Linked DNA regions of Homo sapiens: all the other regions are linked to region 4. The links are contacts of gene promoters, found by promoter capture Hi-C in blood cells and fetal thymus (Javierre and others, 2016). All regions are on one chromosome and are shown on one strand. Each heading gives the region's core, a stretch centred on a gene start or on the middle of the fragment in contact. The rest is flanking DNA. Distances are from core to core; before and after follow the strand shown.

Region 1 (2,934 bases), core at 358-2,857, 270 kb before region 4:
TGCCTCAGCCTCCCGAGTAGCTGGGACTACAGACGGCCGCCACCACACCAGGCTAATTTTTTGTATTTTTAATAGAGACAGGGTTTCACTGTGTTAGCCAGGATGGTCTCGATCTCCTGACCTCGTGATCTGCCTGCCTCAGCCTCCCAAAGTGCTGGAATTACAGGCATGAGCCACCGCTCCTGGCCAAAAAAATTTTTTTAATTAGCCAGACATGGTGACCTGCACCTGTGGTCCCAGCTACTCCAGAGGCTGAGGTGGGAGGATCACTTGAGACCAGGAGGTCAAGGCTTGCAGTGAGCCATGATAATGCCACTCTAGCCTGGGTGACAGATGAGACCCTGTCTGGAAAAAAAATAGAAGTATCAAGCAGCGCTAAATAGTAATGTCATAAAGAGACCAAAATATAAAAGAAGGATAGTGTTAAAAGAAAACTTTAGACAAATTAAATATAAGAGTTTAATTTTGCAAAAAAAAGATTTGTCAATCAGGTAGCCACCCCGAACCAGAATATGTTCAGAGAGACTCCAACACTGTTGCATGGTGGAAGAAGATTTATGGACAGAAAAAGGACAGTGATGTACGGAAAACAGAAGTGAGATATAAAAACAGCTTGATTGGTTGAGTGTATTATTTGAACAGTTGGCCTCCTGTAATTAGCCAAAACTCAGCGATTGTTATAATAGGTTATAGACCATTTATACATCCAGTTAGGTTACAATTTACTGTGTACAGAGAAACCTTTAGGCTGAACTTATAAGGAGGCAACTTTAGGCTAAACTCAATTTAACAATTTCTCCCCTTTTGTTCAACCTCTCAACTTGACCAAAATAGAGAGGTTGACCAAAATCCTAGACATTGACATTACTTTCTGACCATTGTAAATGTACTTATCTGGTCGCAAATCCCATTGGGAAATAGTACAACAGTGGGTTTTGTAAGGTGCGAATAAGGACTTTAGGTTATTTTCTGGTAAGCGTTAGAGTAGAGGATACTTTTTTTTTATTATGTTGGAATTTTTATTTATTTAAATTTTATGGACATTTTATGGATGATTGTATGTAAACATTTAAAACTTTTGAAAGTCCTTAGTGCACATAGGAGACTACTATTAAGATTACCAAGAGGATAATACCAAGACTTTGGAGTATGCCCCTTAGCCAGGGTCAACATGAACTAAACTAACTAAAATCAAATAGATCAAAGAAAGAGCTAGATAAAAGATCAAGCTGTTTTAACCAAGCAGCTTGTTTATTAATCCCCTGTAACTGAATCTCTATAATACCTGATATGTTCATCTCTGTGCAACAAGAAGTGTGAGCAACTGCAGATACTTCTCTGTATCTGCATACAGAGATACATACTTCTCTGTATGCAGATACAGAGAAGTATCTGCATACAGAGATACATACTTCTCTGTATCTCAGTAAGTAATATACAGCAATTCCGTTATCTAGCACAACTTTAGCAAGAGAACTTAAAGTCTGTTGTGCCATGGCCTTTGCAGTAGAGTCAGCTATAGAGTCTACTATGAGGGATAAATTTCCTTTTTCTTTCTTTTTTTTTTTTTTACTTGTTGAGACGGAGTCTTGCTCTGTCACCCAGGCTGGAGTGCAGTGGAGCGATCTCGGCTCACTGCAAGCTCCACCTACCGGGTTCATGCCTTTCTCCTGCCTCAACCTCCCGAGTAGCTGGGACTACAGGTGCCCGCCAGCACACCCAGCTAATTTTTTTCTGTTTTTAGTAGAGACGGGGTTTCACCATGTTAGCCAGGATGGTCTCGATCTTCTGACCTTGTGATCCGCCCACCTCAGCCTCCCAAAGTGCTGGGATTACAGGCGTGAGCCATCATGCCCGGCCTTTTTTTTTTTTGAGATGGAGTTTTGCTCTTGTTGCCCAAGCTGGAGTGCAATGGTGTAATCTTGGCTCACTGCAACCTCTGCCTTCCAGGTTCAAGTGATTCTCCTGCCTCAGCCTCCTGAGTTTTTGGGATTACAGGCACCCGCCACCATGCCCAGCTAATTTTTTGTATATTTTTTTTCAGTAGAGATGGGGTTTCACCATGTTGGCCAGGCTGGTCTTGAACTCCTGACCTCAGGAGATCCACCCACCTCGGCCTCCCAAAGTGCTGGGATTACAGGTGTGAGCCACCGCGCCCGGCCATGAGGGATAAATTTCTTTTTTTTTCCTTTTTTTTTTTTTGAGAGAGTCTCACTCTGTTGCCAGGCGGGAGTGCAGTGGCACAATCTCGGCTCACTGCAACCTCCACCTCCTGGGTTCAAGTGATTCTCCTGCCTCAGCCTCCTGAGTAGCTGGGATTACAGACGTGCACCTCTATGCCCAGGTTTTTTTGTTTTTTTGTGTGTGTGTGTGTTTTTAGTAGAGACAGGGTTTTACCATTTTGGCCAGGCTGGTCTCGAACTCCTAACCATGTGATCCACACGCCTCAGCCTCCCAAAGTGTTGGATTACAGGTGTGAGCCACCATGCCTGGCCATGAGGGATAAATTTCTAATCATTGCTTCATTTATTCTAAATTATGGAAAAAGAGACAATAAATGATGTCTGTATCTACAAGACTGAAGGCCTCCTGGCAATGTTTTTTTTTAAATTTATGATATTGGTTAAGAGGAGTGGACTAAAGTTTTTGACTGATTATGAGGTAATAAAGGTATTAACATCAGTTATCTATATTGGGGTTTTTTAATTGTTTAATTTTTTTTTTTTGAGACAGAGTCTTGCTCTGTTGCCAGGCTGGAGTGCAGTGGTGCGATCTCGGCTCACTGCAACCTCCTCCTCCTGGGTTCAAGTGATGCCCCTGCCTCAGCCTCCTGAGTAGCTGGGACTATAGGTGCCCGCCATCATGCCTGGTTAATTTTTTTGTATTTTAGTAGAGACGGGGTTTCACCATATTGGCCAGAATGGTCTCGACCTC
Region 2 (2,700 bases), core at 180-2,679, 310 kb before region 4:
AAATGATTGCAGACTTATTACTTCTATTATCAGTCAGCTTTCAAAAAAGAAATCTAATTTAGCTGGAGAGCTTTGAATAAACTTATTGCATGGCATAGCAACTTTGCTATAAATTACATTTTACACAACAATGCCCATTCTTTTAAAATTAGGGCCTTTTAAGCCAGGTGTGATGGCACACACACACCTGTGGTCCAACTACTCAGAAGTCTGAGGCAGGAGGACTGCTTGAGGAGATTGAGGTCAGCCTTGGCAATACAGTGAAAGCCCATCTCAAAAAAATAAATAAATAACTAAAAAACTAGACCCTTGTTTTTCTTTCCACCTTACAAAGTATCACCTCCTCAGTTTACACTGTTTGATGAACCCAAGACCCTGTGAGCTGACTAGCAAATCTAATCATGGGTATCACACACTGTCACCTCACCTCTACTATCTGAAAGATTTTCCTGCTACAACATCCCCCTGCACATATAAAACATAACACAGCATAACATACATGTATAAATAATGTAAACCATTTAATATTAAAAGTATCAAGTCTCTCTAAACTTTTTGTAATTATTGCCAGCCATTTGAAGAAATGAAGCCATCAAAAAGCTTCAAGTTAGCATGGCAGAGTAATGTAGAAACACCAAGTTTACCAAAACTCCATAAATACCCATTTTGCTTTTAGATATTTAGATTCTTCTAACATTCGAAAAGCAAGCGATGGTGCAGTGCCTATGCTCCTGAATTCATAACGGCGCTAGCAATGCCTGGCCTGGGCTCATAGTTATGGTTTCGGTACACTGTGAACACAGTCCCTCCCCAGGTAAAGAATGATCACCCATTTTAGGCTGTAGAAATTGGCAGTCATCATTTGAGCCAATCATATACAGCTCAGAGATGAAGACCAACAGACACACTAAGAGTTTTGTTGTACGGCATCTCCTGGTAACCAACAGTAGTGACTATTCAGTGTGGCACCATTTCATTCGGCATCTTTTCGACTCTAACAGTAAGTCTGGATATCCCTTTTTACTGAAAGCCAATTGTAACTAGCCAAAAACTCTATGAAATGTTGGCCTTCCTTTGTAGGAGTTTGAAGAAACATATGAAATTCTGCAAACTTTCCTTTTTAAGTGACAATCTGTACCCTGCATTTTTAAAAACAGGTTTTCAAGATGAGCTCTAACCACCCCTAAAAGCATCTGAACAAAATCAAATACAGCCAGGGCAGTAAGCAATACATGAGGAAGATGTGAAATCCCAGGCCAGTGAACTGCTGACGTTTTGCATACTTTAGACTTAAGAATCATTAAGAATTTACCAACAGTTTTCCCATCTTCAGATTACCTCTGGGCTATAATGAATTTCTTTTATTTAGGAATTACCAGAACCTACTTCTTTATTAGTTAAATGGTTTATAACAGGAGAGGAAAAGTGAGTTGCCAGAATCCCCCCCAAAGAAGTTTACTAAGAACCATTGGTGGGTCTTCAGCTGAGAAATCAGAAGAGGATAAAAACAAAATTGCTGGGGCGGGTGTTTTAGGAAAGAATATACAGCTGTTTTAACAATCTTTGATTCGAATTTATTTAAAAAAAAAAAAAAAAGCCCAGTTAAAGAAAATGTAACGTGTGCTTCCAGTGGCACTAGGATGAGTACAATTTCAGTTTCATTGCATAGAGAAGCATTAAAACATTTTTATTCGATACTATAATTGGAAATGAGTTTCTTGTGATAGTGCTTGTGACAGTAACATTCAAAGTCTACATTTAACCACAGCAATTGCGATATGTGTAAGAATGAAAAATCCTCTGGTACTTTAATAGTGCAAAGACTGCAACAGTGAATACAGCAGTCACGAATACATATGATGACAATTATTTTAAATGATTCTTTAATGTTCTGTGTTTATATTTACTGAAGGTATGTAGCTGATCTAAGTTTGCAAAGCAGGATCATCGTTTGTGGACTAATAGATGAAGAGTCATGTCATAAAATAAAGATTTGCTATACTTAACTGGACAAAGCACATATTCAACCAGATGCCCCCTGACTGCATATTGGGGGCGGCCCAGGTCTAGGTGTAGCAAGGTACACTACTTTGGCCTGAAGCATTAATTCACAATGCAACTGCCAAGAAGAAACATGAATCCCATCAGAGTTTTTTTTTTTCTACCAGTGCTGCCAAACAGGCTCTTAGAAGCATAGACAGACACACATTTTTATACTACATGCAGAAAAATGTAACAAAGAACTGCACGTGTTAATGTCAAGCTTGCTGCCATCATCTAACTGTCCACAAAATTTTATCAAGTATACACATGAGAAAGCAAGACCCTTTTCAGTTACACAAAAATAATAGCTAATTTACTAAAGAAAGTATTTTCAATTAATTTCAGTGCTCTTGAAGGAGGTGTGTGTGTGAAGGAGAGAGGGAGGGAAGGAGGAAGGGAAGGAGTCAGGGAGGGAATACATATCTCTGAGTGTCTTTTTTTCCCTCCAAAACCACCCAATATGGTCAACATTGTTTTTTGCTTTGTTTTAAAGTGTTAGATTTAGGAAATTTTCCTCAGTGAGGAACAAACAGAAGCAGGAAGTCTAAACAAAAGCAAATTAAATCAAGACATGGACATCAAAAACAATTTTGGCTTTACTTTGCGGTGGAAGTTGGTCCTATATCTAACACTGCACAAGGTTTCTTGCACAATGAA
Region 3 (2,700 bases), core at 58-2,557, 290 kb before region 4:
TACTTCAAAAAAATTTTGTTAAAACCTAAGCTTTCCAAATGGACACTGAGCAAGGTAATTAACTGCTCTAAGTTTAATCTATAAATGAATAAATCTCTCCTAGAGTTACTGTGAGAACTGAATAAGGTTAACACATGTATTTAGTACAATGCTAGATGCACAGTATCAATTAATGTCAGTCTACTATATCACTACTACAGATGGTGGATTATGACTTTTATCGATATGAAATATCTTTATCTGGTTTAAGAACAACCATGATAAATTATGGGCATTCCCCCAGGCCAATAAATGCACATCCTACATGTTGCTTTAAACAGGGTGTATATGTGTACTAATTCATTCCATGGTATGTATGTAACAGAACTTAATCGACTATTCCACAAGTAAGGAAAATTCAGGTTATTTCCTTTTTTATCTTTAGAAATAAAGTTACAGTGAATATCCTTGCCCCTACATTGTTTCTTCTGTTATTTTTATGTCTACAACAGATTACCAAATAAGTTATTAAGGTTCTTTCAAATATAAAACTTAACTCTCAAATAAGTGATTGCCTATCCAAACACTAAATATAAAAACAAACAGGGAATTGTCACAAGTGCCAGAGACAGGACTACCTGAAGGTAAAACCTTATAGATTCTAAACTTATATATCAAATGAAAAGGTAGAAATAAGTTATTCTTCCACATTTCAGATTAATCACATGTAAAAGTCTAAAATCTATTGCTCTTTCCAAAACTTCGAGTAAAAATTCTATTTAATGACAGAAAAATAAACACTATATACTCAAGTGAACAGATGTATAATTCTAATTTTTTGAAAGAAAATGTATATACATTCAAGAAACAGACCAAAAATATTAGTCAATTTTTGGCATTATCCCTTCACATATTTCCCAGTTTTTCTACAATGAGCATATAACAGTAAAAATGTTCAAAAAATTGTTTAAAATCAGAATTCAACCTGCTTTCAGTATATGTATCCAACAAATTAATTCCTGCATTCAAAATACTTTTGTTTACAGGGGTAAGTCACATCAGCCTGTGCCCAAACTGCAAAGGGCAAACTCTCCTCTTTCCAAAGATAAACTCGGCCGGGTGCAATGGCTCACGCCTGTAATCCCAGCACTTTGGGATGCCGAGGCAGGCGGATCACTTAAGGTCAGGAGTCTGAGACTAGCCTGGCCAACATGGTGAAACCCTGTCTACTAAAATTACACAAAATTAGCTGGGTGTGATGGTGTGTGCCTGTAATCCCAGCTACTTGGGAGGCTGAGGCACGAGAATTGCTTTAACCTGGGGGGCGGAGGTTGCAGTGTGCCGAGATTGCGCCACTGCACTCCAGCCTGGGCGATAGAGCAAAACTCAGTCTCAAAAAAAAAAAGGTAAACTACCCCCACATCTCTATTTTCCCTCCTTCCCCACCAACCCTTTCATATCACTGAAATGTAACACTCTGACATAAACTACAAACAAGATATAGGGGATAAAATTTGATGTTTATTTAGCCACAGACTCCATCCTGGTGCAGCTTAAGTCTATTTTCAGCACAGAACTGCTTCATGTTCAAAATCCAGGTTCCTTGCTAGCTGGACTTCTGATTCATTCTCAAGTTCCATATTGAAATCACTGTCCCTAAAAATAACTGACTTCCTTTCCTACTTGCTAGTCCTTTGGATTATGTCTTAAAAATCCTGTAATAAATCTTCCTCCTCAGACCCTCTTTAATGCAAATCAGTTTACACAAACTGTACTTCAGCTGCTCACAGTAAAATTCCTACAATTTTCATTAAGTTGTAAAATTTAAGAAAAAGAACCTAATTTTTAATTATTACCAATAATCTAGGCTACAATGCCAAAATATTATTTTGTATTTCTGTAAATTCTTACATGTCAAATGTGACATAACCACACTAACCTTGGTTCAAATAAGTAAGCGTTTCATCATGCAGTTTTACTGCTGGTGACGTTGCAGCACACATCACATACTGAAAGGGTGGGTGCTCTGTTTCACCATCCAATGGAAGGCTGGAATCTTCCTGCTTGAAAATGGGCAATGCCAAGACATCACTGAAAAGCAAAAAATCAACACTGACCTTACTTTGGGTTTGAAATATTTGTCTACAGCCATATCATCCTGAATGCACCCAATCTTGTCTGAAATATTTAAAAGCATATAAACATTTAGGGATAGTTTTTTTTTTAAGATCAGAAATTATATGTAGAATAAAAGAACTATGAATGCTATGTGGTTCATCTAAAGGATGGCATTAACAACCCCTATCTCGGGGTGGGAAGTGGGGGAGGGCGGCAGGGCAGCTCTGAATATATATATATATATATATATATATATATATATATATATATAGCACTTTAAAAACTTCTTTTAAAACTTTAAGGTCCAGATTCTTTCTATAAAAAAAAAGCAAGTCAAGAGTACCTAGCTACTTGATTTGAAAGGCAAGAAATAATACTGCTGCCAAAGGTAGGTCACACTTGACACCATAGAATTACAAAGAAGCATCTGATTAAAATGGGGTTTTACAAAAAGTTCCCTGCTGTGCCTTGGCAAGTGTTAAGAACATGAAGCTTCATGCCTAATCTAAAACAATGGCTCCTACTGAGAGGTAAACAGGAGCAGCAGCAGTCGCAGCAGCTGCTATTCTCCCCCTAAGAATAACCTGGGGCACTGATTGGGAG
Region 4 (2,882 bases), core at 370-2,869:
AAGAAATAATCTCCCAAATGGTAATGATATATTATTAAATTACCTTTTCCCCAAACGTTTTAAAAATAATAATCAAGAGATGGTATGTAATGAAGCATCGACGTGGGTAACTCTCAAACTTTATTGTCCTTGTAAAAAGTCTAACCTTTCCAAAACTCATCTGGGCTTTACCATTAAATCTGCGTCATAATTCTAGAGTTTGTCTTTCTTCTCTTTTTGAATAAAAGGTTTCAAAGTACAGCCTATTCGCTGGATCATGAGAATATGTTACTAAGAAGAATCACTTCATCCATGGGAAGCTGCAGTCAGCATTTTAAAGCAACACTGCCACCAGAAGACAAGAAAGAAAAGTAACTACTAACGACTACGGGGCAAGTTAAATACAAAATATTTACCTGGCCTCCCAACGCGGCTACATTACACCCTGCCTACCACCAACTCTTCAGAAAGGCTCATTCTTTCTCGCACCTCATCTTTGTAACTTTTTCCCCCCCAGCATTAGCCTATCTACTAAGACACATCAACCTAAAATCGTATCCTAATGTCCTATCTGTTGGTCTGGGTAGTGTTTACACAGGTGAACACAAATGTCGAAGTCTTTCACTGATTTTTTTTTCAAAATAAGTGATCAACATTGTGTCCTAGTAACTCCGCAACGTGTCACGGAATCGCTGAATTTGTCATTGTCCACAAGTGTAGAAAAATGTGGTCACAAGTCAGTCCTCGGCTCGCGTACGAAGAGGCGGTCTGCCCAGTGGGGACGCGGGACCCCCCTGTTTCCCCTATTTTTATTTATTTTTTACTTTTTTTGAGACAGAGTCTCACTCTGTCGCCCAGGCTGGAGTGCAGTGGCTCGATCTCGGCTCACTGCAACCTCTGCCTGCTAGATTCAAGCGATTCTCCTGCCTCAGCCTCCTGGGTAGCTGGGATTACAGGCGCCCGCCACCACGCCCGGCTAATTTTTGTATTTTTAGTAGAGACGGGGTTGCACCATGTTGGTCAGGCTGGTCTCGAACTCCTGACCTCGTGATCCGCCCGCCTGTGCTTCCCAAAGTGTGTTTCCCCTCTTAAGCAGTGGTTCGGACGGGAGCTTTCCCGGCCCGGCGCTCGCGTCCGGGATTAAAGGGCTGCCGCGGAGGGCGTGACCAGCCCAGCCTCGCCGCCGTCGCTTACCCGGTAGTTGCTCGAACCCACCCAGCCGGTGAGCGCGTCGACTGTCTTGCCTAGGCGGCCCAGGTCCTCCTCCAGGTCCGAGATGGCGCCGGGGGCGCCAAGGTAGAGCAGGAGCTCCTGGCCGACCTGCAGCCGGCCGCCGACGTCCTTCTGCTGCACCTGGGCGCAGAAGTACTCCATGCTGCGGGGCTCCATGGCTGCGGCCGCCCGCCCGCCTGCCAGTCTGTGAGCGGCCAACTTTCGCCGAGAGCCGCCCAGCCTCCAGTGCGGGTCCCCGCGGGAGCGGGCGGGACTCACTTAGCCCGCCAGGGGCGCGGCTTGCGGGGCGCAGCGGGCGGCGGGAGGAACGCCAAGCGCCCAGCCGCCCCCAAACTAGTCAAACTCGGCGCCCCCCGATCCCCAGCCCGCTTCAGAGGCCGCGGCCGCGGGCGACGTCAGCACGCGCGTGACGTCAGCACGACGCCGGCGAGGGCCCTCCAGTCCGGCTAGCGTTTTGCTGCGGAGGTGGTGGAGGTGGCTGCGGAAACCGCTGGGAGCGATAGGACCTCTAGGGAGACTTGGGGTCCGAGTTGGGCCGAGCCCCCTGGGAGGCGGGCCGTTCTTTGCTAGCCGCTGTCAGGGCACCCTGCCCTCGCCCTGTGAAATGTGGAACGTTTCCAAGTTTGCCTCCACTTGTATTCAACACTTAGGAAAGTACTTGGCATCCCCCTTTCCCGCCCCCACTGCCGGTTTAAAAAAAAAAAAAAAAAAGAATACACTCCTGACTTCTGCTTCCAGCCACCACCACAGTCACTGTGTAATACTTAAAAAAACAAAACAAAACAAAACTTAGGTTTGCCTAAAGTAAAACGCACAGATTTTCAGCGTACACTTCATGAGTTTCGGCAAATGTATTCACCCGTGGAACCGCCACCCCAGTGAGGGTACAGCACGTTTCCAACACCCCAGGAAGTCCCAGGACACTTCCCAATTATCTGCTCTTCCCTAGGCAATTCTAATTTGATTTCTAGCATGGTAACATAGTTTTCCCTGTTCCTGAACTTCATACAGTCTGTGCTTCTTTGGAGTCTGGTTTCTTTTAGCATAACGTTTGGGGTCCATCCAGCGCTGTTGGTGTCTCAGAAGTCCATTCCTTTTTATTGCTTTCCATTCTGTGGAATCACTACCATTTGTCGATCCATTCACTTGTTGGTAGATATTTGGGTTGTTTCCTATTTTTTATAATTATGAATAAAGCTGCTACAACGGTTAGTGCACAAGTTTTTGTGTGGATATATTTTCTTCTCTCATGGGTAAATAAATACCAAGGACTGGCATTACTAGGTCTTGTAAGTTGTATGTTTAACTTTAGAAGAACCTGCCAAATTGTTTACCAAAGTGACTGGATCATATTAAATCCCCACCAGCAATGCTTGAGAGTTCCAGTTGCTCCACAATATTTGATATGGTCAGGGTTATTAGTTTTAGCCATTCTGGTGGGGGTAAAGTTGTCTAATACATTCCAAAAGCACACTGTGTTTATCTTCTTGACAATTATTCCCAATCACAACAAAATGATTATTTATGTAATATCTTTCTCTTCTAATACACAGAAAGCTCCAGGAACCTTTGTGTTTTCCTAGGGTGGTGCCTAGCAAATAATGGGTGGCCAATTTAAGTTAAATGAGTGAATGAATTCAACAAAAATTGATATTTGAAATATTCACAAT

What was found. The method cuts DNA at HindIII sites, captures the fragments that hold promoters and counts their contacts. A CHiCAGO score of 5 or more calls a contact.
Region 1: a contact is called between a fragment that was not itself captured here and the fragment with the promoter of CLASP2 in region 4, in 2 of 17 cell types (non-activated CD4 T cells and naive CD8 T cells). The highest score is 5.4, in non-activated CD4 T cells.
Region 2: a contact is called between a fragment that was not itself captured here and the fragment with the promoter of CLASP2 in region 4, in 3 of 17 cell types (non-activated CD4 T cells, naive CD4 T cells and activated CD4 T cells). The highest score is 6.7, in non-activated CD4 T cells.
Region 3: a fragment that was not itself captured here is called in contact with the fragment with the promoter of CLASP2 in region 4 in 6 of 17 cell types (naive CD8 T cells, total CD8 T cells, activated CD4 T cells and 3 more); the score reaches 6.3 in naive CD8 T cells.

Annotation. Positions count from the first base shown.
Region 1 is chr3:33,442,884-33,445,817 of GRCh38, forward strand. No RefSeq gene overlaps it. Among named protein-coding and RNA genes, the nearest start is that of UBP1, 3.9 kb to the left of the region's middle. The HindIII fragment of the contact is 4,305 bases long and covers 1-2,934 here.
Region 2 is chr3:33,405,968-33,408,667 of GRCh38, forward strand. All of the region lies in intron 8 of UBP1 (upstream binding protein 1), which reads right to left. It also overlaps a transcript of FBXL2 not described here. Among named protein-coding and RNA genes, the nearest start is that of UBP1, 33 kb to the right of the region's middle. The HindIII fragment of the contact is 1,663 bases long and covers 599-2,261 here.
Region 3 is chr3:33,423,672-33,426,371 of GRCh38, forward strand. UBP1 (upstream binding protein 1) reads right to left here. Exons shown (of 16, transcript NM_014517.5): 2 at 1,919-2,070. Among named protein-coding and RNA genes, the nearest start is that of UBP1, 15 kb to the right of the region's middle. RefSeq lists an enhancer at 2,424-2,700. The HindIII fragment of the contact is 2,559 bases long and covers 29-2,587 here.
Region 4 is chr3:33,716,635-33,719,516 of GRCh38, forward strand. It overlaps CLASP2 (cytoplasmic linker associated protein 2), which reads right to left and starts at 1,620. Exons shown (of 39, transcript NM_001365631.1): 1 at 1,174-1,620. The coding sequence starts at 1,368. RefSeq lists a silencer at 1,352-1,691 and an enhancer at 1,892-1,981. The HindIII fragment of the contact is 12,344 bases long and covers 1-2,882 here.